2 separate regions of the Homo sapiens genome follow, and region 1 is linked to region 2. Evidence: promoter capture Hi-C in human tissues and cell types (Jung and others, 2019). All regions are on one chromosome and are shown on one strand. Each heading gives the region's core, a stretch centred on a gene start or on the middle of the fragment in contact. The rest is flanking DNA. Distances are from core to core; before and after follow the strand shown. Region 1 has its middle 16 kb from the start of MIR1302-1. Region 2 holds the start of OAS1 (2'-5'-oligoadenylate synthetase 1).

What was found. Contacts are between HindIII fragments. The study calls those that stand out against the background at their distance.
Region 1: a fragment that was not itself captured here is called in contact with the fragment with the promoter of OAS1 in region 2 in 4 of the 25 tissues and cell types used here (heart left ventricle, liver, mesendoderm cells and 1 more).

What each region holds. Positions count from the first base shown.
Region 1 is chr12:112,708,644-112,713,218 of GRCh38, reverse strand. It overlaps a transcript of RPH3A not described here. Among named protein-coding and RNA genes, the nearest start is that of MIR1302-1, 16 kb to the right of the region's middle. RefSeq lists an enhancer at 2,555-3,055. The HindIII fragment of the contact is 4,247 bases long and covers 662-4,575 here.
Region 2 is chr12:112,905,425-112,910,054 of GRCh38, reverse strand. It overlaps OAS1 (2'-5'-oligoadenylate synthetase 1), which reads right to left and starts at 3,093. Exons shown (of 6, transcript NM_016816.4): 1 at 2,836-3,093; 2 at 1,231-1,519. The coding sequence starts at 3,015. RefSeq lists an enhancer at 2,813-3,252. The HindIII fragment of the contact is 21,386 bases long and covers 1-4,630 here.

The sequences.
Region 1 (4,575 bases), core at 1,536-4,035, 200 kb after region 2:
GGCTTATGCCTATAATCCCAGCACTTTGAGAGGCCAAGGCATGAGGATCCCTTGAACCCAGGAGTTCGAGACCAGCCTGGGCAACATGGTGAGACCCTTTCTCTACAAAAAAATAAAAGAAGAAGAAGAAGAAGAAGAAGAAGAAGAAGAAGAAGAAGAAGAAGAAGGAGAAGAAGAAGAAGAAGAAGAAGAAGAGGAAGAGGAAGAGGAAGAGGAAGAGGAAGACAAAGACGACGAAGAAGAAAGAAGAAGAAAGAAGAAGAAGAAGAAGAAGAAGAAGAAGAAGAAGAAGAGGAAGAAGAAGAAGAAGAAGAGGAAGAAGAAGAAGAAGAAGAAGAAAAAAAAGTGAGCTGGGTGTGGTGGCACACAGTCCCAGCTACTCAGGAGGCTGAGATGGGAGGATCACATGAGCCCAGGAGTTTGAGGCTGCCATGAGCCATGATCACACCACTGCACTCCAGTCTGGGCAACAGAGTGAGACCCTGTCTCAAAAACAAAACAAAACAAACAAACAAAATATATATACACATACACACACACACACATACACACACACACACACAAGTAGGGGACAAATGAGCACCAAATTCATAATGCAGGCTACCTCTGGTCGGGGCATGAGGGACATGTGATTGGGGACAGGGCTGTGATTGCTTCAGTAGCATCTTAGTTCTTAAACTGGATGGTGAGTACATGGGTGTTCATTATGTTATTCTTTACACCTTTTTGTATGTCTTAATATTTTGTATATTTAAAATAACAATTTAAAAATAGACATCTGGATAATTTATGCGGTTTCTATTAGATTGAAACATAAGAAATTGCCAACGTTGGACCATTTTTTGACCTACAAAGGGACAGTTTCCTATGTTCATAACAGAATCTAGATCTATAACACATCAATTCATCCAAATCAACCTTTCTAATAAATCTTACTTATGAATAATGAAGAATAGAAAATGTTGGTCTGGGTGGATTACGTGCGTGCCTGCGTGCGTGCATGCGTGTGTGTGTTTTCTTTAACTCCAATTAAATACAGCATTCAGATGACAGAACCAAAATTAACCTAAGAACTAAAATGTACAGAGGCCGGGCATGGTGGCTCACCCCTGAAATCCCAGTACTTTGGGAGGCTGAGGAGGGCAGATCACCTGAGGTCAGGAGTTTGAGACCAACCTGACCAACATGGAGAAACCCCATCTCTACTAAAAATACAAAATTAGCCAGGTATGGAGGTGCATGCCTGTAATCCCAGCTACTCTGGAGGCTGAGGCAGGAGAATTGCTTGAACCCGGGAGGCAGAGGTTGTAGTGAGCTGAGATCGCACCATTGCACTCCAGCCTGGGCAACAAGAACAAAACTCTGTCTCAAAAAAAGAAAAAAATTGTACAGAGAACAAGGAACGAGGAAAGAGAGATTGCAGCAAAAAGTGGACAGATGCAGCATTCTCCCCAGCAAGCAGTATGGGTTATCACTCCTCCTACCTGCACTGGATAACAGAGCCCGCCCAATGAGATGCCCAGAAGAGCAGTCATTTGTCATTGGTTAACAACCTGAAGTCCAGTGAAGCAAATTCGTGGCCATTGCAACCACAAGGAAAGGAAAGCTTTATTAGAAATATAAAACACACCACTCGTTTCTGAAGTGCTTGAGTAAATTCCATTAGCTTATACCCCCCAGAAAACATCTATGCCAAGTAATGCAACACACTGCAAGAACAGAGGGAGAATGAGAAAATTATATTGCATTGCTATCATTTCAACTTTTTGTCAGTTCTTTTCAACTGAAAGTCGTCCCCAAAGAGATGTGCTCTTTTTTTTTTCTTCTCAAGGCTTTAAGGAAGAAACAAATAAACTTTTAGCAGAAAGGAGGAGGGAGGCCCAGGATTGCAGCACAAATGATCAAAGTGAACAAACTATGCTTATATAGGGCAGTTTGGGTATGCACAAGAAACACTCCGGGAGCTTATTAGAAATGCAAATCCCTGCCCCTGCCACTGTTCTGACTCAATAGGTCCAGGAATGAGCCTAAGAACTGTAAGTATTTAATAAGCACCTTGAGTGATTCAGATGCAGGGTGTGTACAGACCTCATCAAGAAAGAAATGTTGTGATAGGAGGATCCGGCTACCCTAAAATTGATCTGAATTCTCCCAAACGCTGTTCTTGATCAAAGAAAGAATAGTTGTTGCTGCCTGCTTGGAGTTCTTCTGAACTGGAGATAACATTCTAAGCTAATTTATTGCATCTCTGAAGTGCCTACTGAATTGTTTCATTCACTTATTCATTCAACAAATATTTATTAAGCACCTACTATGTGCTAGGTGCTGTGTTACATAAGAGACTCATGTTCAAGATAAAAGGAAGGGAGAAAGGCAAAAAGAAAGGGTAATAAAAAATACACAGAAACGGAAAAGAAAGGGAAGGGAAAGATTTTTAAGTAATGTTTTTGAATCATCAGGCAGCCCACTGTGGAAACATAATATGTAATTTATAATGACTTCTTTACATATCTTCCTGCTGACTGTACCTGGATTCACTTTGTTTTCTCTTCTGTATGTTAAGCTCCAGGCAAAACTGCCTCATTTGTTATGTACAAGTGGAGTCTATGCACACTAGGGAAGCTCTTGCTTTTAGCCTCTGGGACCTTAAGGACGTGTCACAACACTACAAATATGATTGGGCCTGAAAGGGAACTGGCAGAGGCCAGAGTGCTGTGGCCTGGGATCATGGAATGGCCGCCTGGGGACTTTACAGGGTACAAGGAGCAGCCTCCTGACTTCTCTCCTCCTGAAAGCTTCAAACCGCCCCTCCTACCCTCCTTGGCTTGATCTCAGCCAAACATTCCAACCTAAGAAAATCAACAGTCCCAGTTTGCCCAGGAAGAACGGGGTTCTGGGATGTGGGACTTTCAGCGCTGAAACTACGGTCAAGAAAGGCAACCAGGCCGGGCGCGGTGGCTCAAGCCTGTAATCCCAGCACTTTGGGAGGCCGAGACAGGCGGATCACGAGGTCAGGAGATCGAGACCATCCTGGCTAACAGGGTGAAACCCCGTCTCTACTAAACATACAAATAAAATTAGCCGGGCGTAGTGGCGGGCGCCTGTAGTCCCAGCTACTCGGGAGGCTGAGGCAGGAGAATGGTGTGAACCCGGGCGGCGGAGCTTGCAGTGAGCCGAGATCATGCCACTGCACTCTAGCCTGGGCGACAGAGTAAGACTCCGTCTCAAAAAAAAAGAAAAAAGGCAACCAGCCATGAACACAGGGCCTGGGGAAGCTACAAAAGGAGGATGCTCCGGCTTTGGGCTGCTTTGTGGCCTTGGGCAAACAATTAAACATGTCTGAGCCTCACTTTCCTCCTCTGTAAAGTGGGGGGATAATCAGCGCCCCACTGTGTTATTGTGAGGATTAAATGAACCTTCATGCTTGCTGTGTTGTCCGCCGGGAAGATCCTCTACTACCCTGGTTTCTTGGTTGGAATGACCCACCTGCAACCTACAAGCTTGGTTTAAACAGCATTTTTTCAGATGTCCCAGACCCCACATTCAAATCACTGGTATATAGCACAGTGCCTGGCACATAGTAGGTGCTTAATAAACATTTGGGGAATAAATAAACAATGCATAGCATGCACAGCACCTGACACGAGAGTAATTTTTTTTTTTTTTTTTGAGACAGGGTTTCGCTCTGTCACCCAGGCTGGAGTGCAGTGGCGTGAGCATGGCTCACTTCAACCTTGAACTCCCAGGCTCAAGTGATCCTCCTGCCTCAGCCTCCTGAGTAGCTGGAACTACAGACACACATCACTAACCCTGGGTAATTTTTTATTTTTTTATAGAGACAGGGTCTCACTTTGTTACCCAGGCTGGTCTCAAACTCCTGGCCTCAAGCAATCCTCCCACCTTGGCCTCTCAAAGTGCTGGGATTACAGGCATGAGCCACTTCTCCCAGCCAAGAGTAAATATTTTTAAATAGCTACTTTTATTATTAAAAGTATTTACTGGAACTAAGAGTGGTCAGGTACCTAAACAGCTCACTTTTTCAACACCTAGTGTGGCAGATGTTCTAGCAGGTCTGTTTTTAAAAATCAAAATAAAATCACTTGTCACCTTTGCCATACACACCCATCAAAGGGAGCTGCATTTTAAGAGAGTAAGAGTTTTAGGGTTTTGGTGGTTGTATTGCCATAAAAATAGAGAAAATTTTTTGACAGAAACCTTATATAATTGCTGTTTATTTCCCTTCTCTGTGTCCTGTATGCCTGAACTCCAATAAATGAGAGTAAAAATCAAATCTGTGATAGAGTTTTTATTTATTTTCCTATCTATAGCATTCTTTATAGGATCCAGATCTGGGAGAGAAAGAAAACAAAGGACAAAGGAAAAGAAAACTTGCCCGTGGGACTTCCCAGCCATCCCTTTCACCTGGTACCTTTAGGTCCTTCTATTTTCGCAGGAGGCTCCGATCCCCTGGGCGCTTGATAATTCTCTGAGGTCATGGAGATCAGATACATGGACACTCATCCACCAACAAAGGCTTTCAGACACAAACCAAGCTGCCTCCCAGAGTACAGAGGT
Region 2 (4,630 bases), core at 1,844-4,343:
TTCAGCCCCCAACACAGGAGATGGCACAAAGGAGAGAATCCAAAACTTTCTCATACCCTGGTGTCTTTGGAGAGTCAGCATTTTTTTTTTCATGGCTGCCCTAGGACTAAAGGAAACTGTGACAGTTCCTTTAATTAAGTCCTAATTACTTGATAATTAATCACTAATTACTGCTTAATGACCAACTATTAATTAGTAGCCACTAATCAGTAAGTTCAGTTTAATAGTAGCCGTTTGTGCGGTGTGTGACAGATGTCATCGCATTTCCCTCAAAAAATTAAAATCTAAACTATTCCGTGTCCCTCTGTGAGTTCACTGTGGTGTTTTGAGGTGCCTTCATATACAGCTGGGAAATTCATAGTTTTGACTGATTGACTGATTGATTGAGACAGGGTCTTGCTCTTGCTCTGTGCCTAGGATGGAGTGCAGTGGTACATTCGTGGCTCACTGACACCTCGAATCCTTGGCTGGCCTCATGTGATCGTTCAGTCTCAGCGTCCTGAATAACTGCGACCACAGGCATGTACCACCACACTTGGCTAATGTTTTAAAATTTTTAGTAGAGATGAGGTTTCACTTTGCTGCCCAGGCTGGTCTTGAACTCCTGGGCTCAAGCGACCCTCCTGCCTCAGCCTCCAAAAGTGTTGGAATTACAAGCATGAGCCACCACACTTGGCTGGAAGTTCCTATTTTTGAACACCTATTACTCATCAGAGCTGAATGTAGATGATCATTTATCACTTAAAATAATGATATGATACAGGTAGTGTGGTTTTACCAATTCTCCTGATGTGGCAAGGGAGCCTCTGAGAGGTTACACTTCCTGTCCAAATGTTCCTGCAAATTATAAATATCTATCTCCCAACGTGCTGCATACGTTTGATGAGATCTCATGTTGGGACAAAGATGAGAGTAACATGAACTTTAAGCCACATCTTTGCTGCCTGATTTTAGAAAGATAAAATTCACACATTTTGCCTTAAACAGAACCAGTAAGCCTTGCAGATGTTCTGTAAGAAATGTCTTTGTCCCCACATTATGCCAATTTGCTGTTTAATGTCTCTCCTGTGATAGATCATGACCGTATTCATTCTTGCCCCGGGACAGATCCTAAGATCTCCTCCCACCCTGCTTTAGAGAGATGCCCTGTTGGGGCAAAAAGCTCTCAAACTGTGGGAGATTTCTGCTCAGAAATGGGAAGAGGGAGAAAAAGAAGCTGGGAGCTCTCACCCAGGGCATCAAAGGCAGGCAGCACATCGAACTCCACCCCCTCCCCGAGCTGGAGCGAACTCAGTACGAAGCTGAGCGCACGGGGGTTGCCCCAGCGTGGAGCCTGGACCTCAAACTTCACGGAAAATGCTCTCTCTCTTTGACAGGCTTCCAGCTGTCTCCTAATTTCCTGGATGAACTCTCCCCGGCGATTTAACTGATCCTGAAAAGTGGTGAGAGGACTGAGGAAGACAACCAGGTCAGCGTCAGATCGGCCTCTGAGGGTGGTGCCCTTGCCTGAGGAGCCACCCTGAAAAAGACGACAAAAATAATAATTGATGCTTAGTGAGGCAAACCTCCCTAAATAAAATGACAGGAGCAATCACTAACATTATGGAGCACTAGCCACTGTTCTGAAGGCATTGCATGTCTTAAACTCCTATAATGCTCACAATGATGCTATGATTTGGATGCCATTATCATTAGTTCCCATTTTACAGATGGGAAAATGGATGCTCAGTGAGATAATATATCAGCCCCATCACCCAGCTAGTAGGTGGCAAATACAATTCAAACCTGGGGGCCTTCTTCCAGGATCTGTGTTCTTTTCCCATTGTCCTTTACGATGCCCAGGACTAGCTTATGCTGGGTGGTTCACACTTACTATTTTACTTAATCTACACGGCCCTATGAGGTATTGAGGGAAAGTAGAGGAAAAATCAGTTAGGTAAATGGTCAAGGCTGGGCCCTGGAGGAGCGGCCTGCCTGAAACTGGCGCAGGGAGTGGGACTTACCTAAAACAAATCCACAGTTATACATACAAGAGAAGCAGCGCTTTATGCTTGCCTAGAGATATACCCACAGCTGCATAAGGTAAGGGAAGTTGCACAGCTTTACTGATAAAAAGTTTCTCAAACAGTTACAGGGAGGAGAGTGGTTTCTTATAAAAGTTTTTTGCATTCAGCTGCAATCTGGCAATCCACTCAGACTTCCCTCTCCACAGTGGAGACAGCTTTCTTCTTTTGCTTACTGAACTTTTGCTCCAAGCTCACGTTTGTGTCCATGTTCCTTAATTTTCTTGGATGCAGGACAAAGAACCTTGGGTACTAATTCAGTGAGAAGCTGCTACATTAAGGTGCACTGGCAAGACTGCAACAGTATTGGGGATTATGGCTGAGGAAATTGGAACACAGAGTAGTTAAGTGACTTGCTCAAGGTCTTGCAGCCAGCAGGTGCTATTTGCTTTCAAAACATATGATTCTTCACTGCAGAAATGGTGAGCCCCTAGCCTGGCCACGAATTAGCAAACTGTTTACCAGAGCTGGGATTCAGTTCCCTATTTCTGAAATGGGCATCGCCCAGGACAGTGGTTCATAAACTTCAGCGGGAAGTAGGGGGGAGGGTCACTTGTTAATAATAGGGATGTAGGATTTCACCCCAGAATCTATTTTAACATGCTGTGTGGATAAATAAGAAACCACCATCCCAGAAGATCTCAGCTCTCTGTACTCACATTTGCACCCTGGGTTCTAGGTTTTTGCTTCTCTCTCTCTCTCTCTCTCATTCTCAATCTCAACTCTTGCACATTCAGCCACCCCTCCCCTGGCCAGGCAGGCCTGGACTCACCTTTACCACCTTGGACACACACACAGGGTAGGAGCTACCTCGGAAGCACCTTTCCTTCAGGAACCCACAGATGATGTCAATGGCATGGTTGATTTGCATGCGGAAACACGTGTCTGGCAAGAGATAGTCTTCAATGAACTTGTCCAGAGATTTGGCTGGGGTATTTCTGAGATCCATCATTGACAGGAGAGAGAGTGGCAACAGAACTGCCTCCCAGACCTGTTTGCTTTTATCTCTTCTGCTGACTGAGCTTGGACTGCTGTTGGTTTCGTTTCCTCAGAAGGGAGGAGCTGTCTTTGCACTTTCCTTTTGCAAATCAGACACTCCCCTGATCCCAGTGCTGAATTTCATCTGCTCACTCTTCTGCTTCCTGAAACTTACCCTTTGTCCTTTAGCCAGCAACAAGCAGCCCAGCCTTTCTCTGAACTCTGCTCTGGAAATGCATTTTAACCTCCAGCCAACATAAATCTTATTTAACAGATTTTGTGTTTCCTTCTTTATCTTTTTTTTGTTGTTGATGAAATCCTTTCACAGTTGTCTGTGGTATTTTCCAGCAATACATGCCCACTGCAAAAAGAAAAAAAGTCAGAAAAACCAGGAAGTGGAAAGATCATCTATGATTCTAACACTACAAAATTGCCTCTATAAACGTTTTGATATAGAGCTTTCCAGATTTTTTTCAAATGTTAACACACACACAAACACAGGTCTCTTTTCTTTTTGTTAAGAATGGTATTATACTATGCTTTTTTCCCTTTCAATTAGTAGATTTTTATTTTATTTTATTATTTTTTGGAGACAGGATCTTGCTTTGTTATCCAGGCTGGAGTGCAGGGGCATGATCATGACTCGTGCAACCTCAACTTCCTGGGTTCAAGGGATCCTCCTGCCCCAGCCTCCTGAATACCTGGGACTACAGGCATGCGTTACTGCACCCAGCTCATTTTTTATTTTTTGTAGAGACAAGGTCTTGCTATGTTGCCCAGGTTGGATTTTATTTCTCACAGCAGTTTTAGGCTTACAGAAATATTGAGCTGAATGTGCAGAGAGTTCCATAAGCTCTCTCTCCTGCCAATAAGTTCCTCTATTATTAACAGTACTGTGATACATTTGTTACAATTGATGAATTGATATTAATACATCATAATTAACAAAAGTCCATTTACATTAAGGTTTACATTAAGGTTCACTCTTGTGTCCTACAGTTCTATGGATTTTGCCAAACATAACATGTCATGTATCCACCATTACAGCACCATGCAGAATAGTTTTGAGATAGGAGGTGGGGCTTGACTCAGGGCCAGATTGAAGACTGGCTGGCATGAGCACCAGCACCATGAACAGTTTACTCATTCCCTGGCAATGACCCAGTTACCACCCTTCTTCTAGAAATTTCTGAATAACCTGCCCTTAATTTGCACGTATTTAAAAGTGGGTATGAATGTGACTATAGAAGTGCCCTGAGCTGCTGCTCTCCAGGCACTGCCTATGGGGTGGCCCTGCTCTGCAGGGACAGTCACAGAACTGTAACCCTGCTGCCTCAATAAACCTTTTTCTTCCTCCTCTAGCTCACCCTTGAATTCCTTCCTGGACGAAGCCAAGAGCCTTCCCGGACGGTGTCCCAGTTTTGGGGCTCCCCTGCCCTGCAAGAGTTTCACTACCTTAAAATCCCCTATGCCTCACCTGTTCATCCCTCTCTGAGTTAGATCTTTCTTCTCCTAATATATGCATTCAATGCTATAACTTTCCCTCTAAACACTACTTTCACTACATCCCACACTTTTTGATAGGCTGT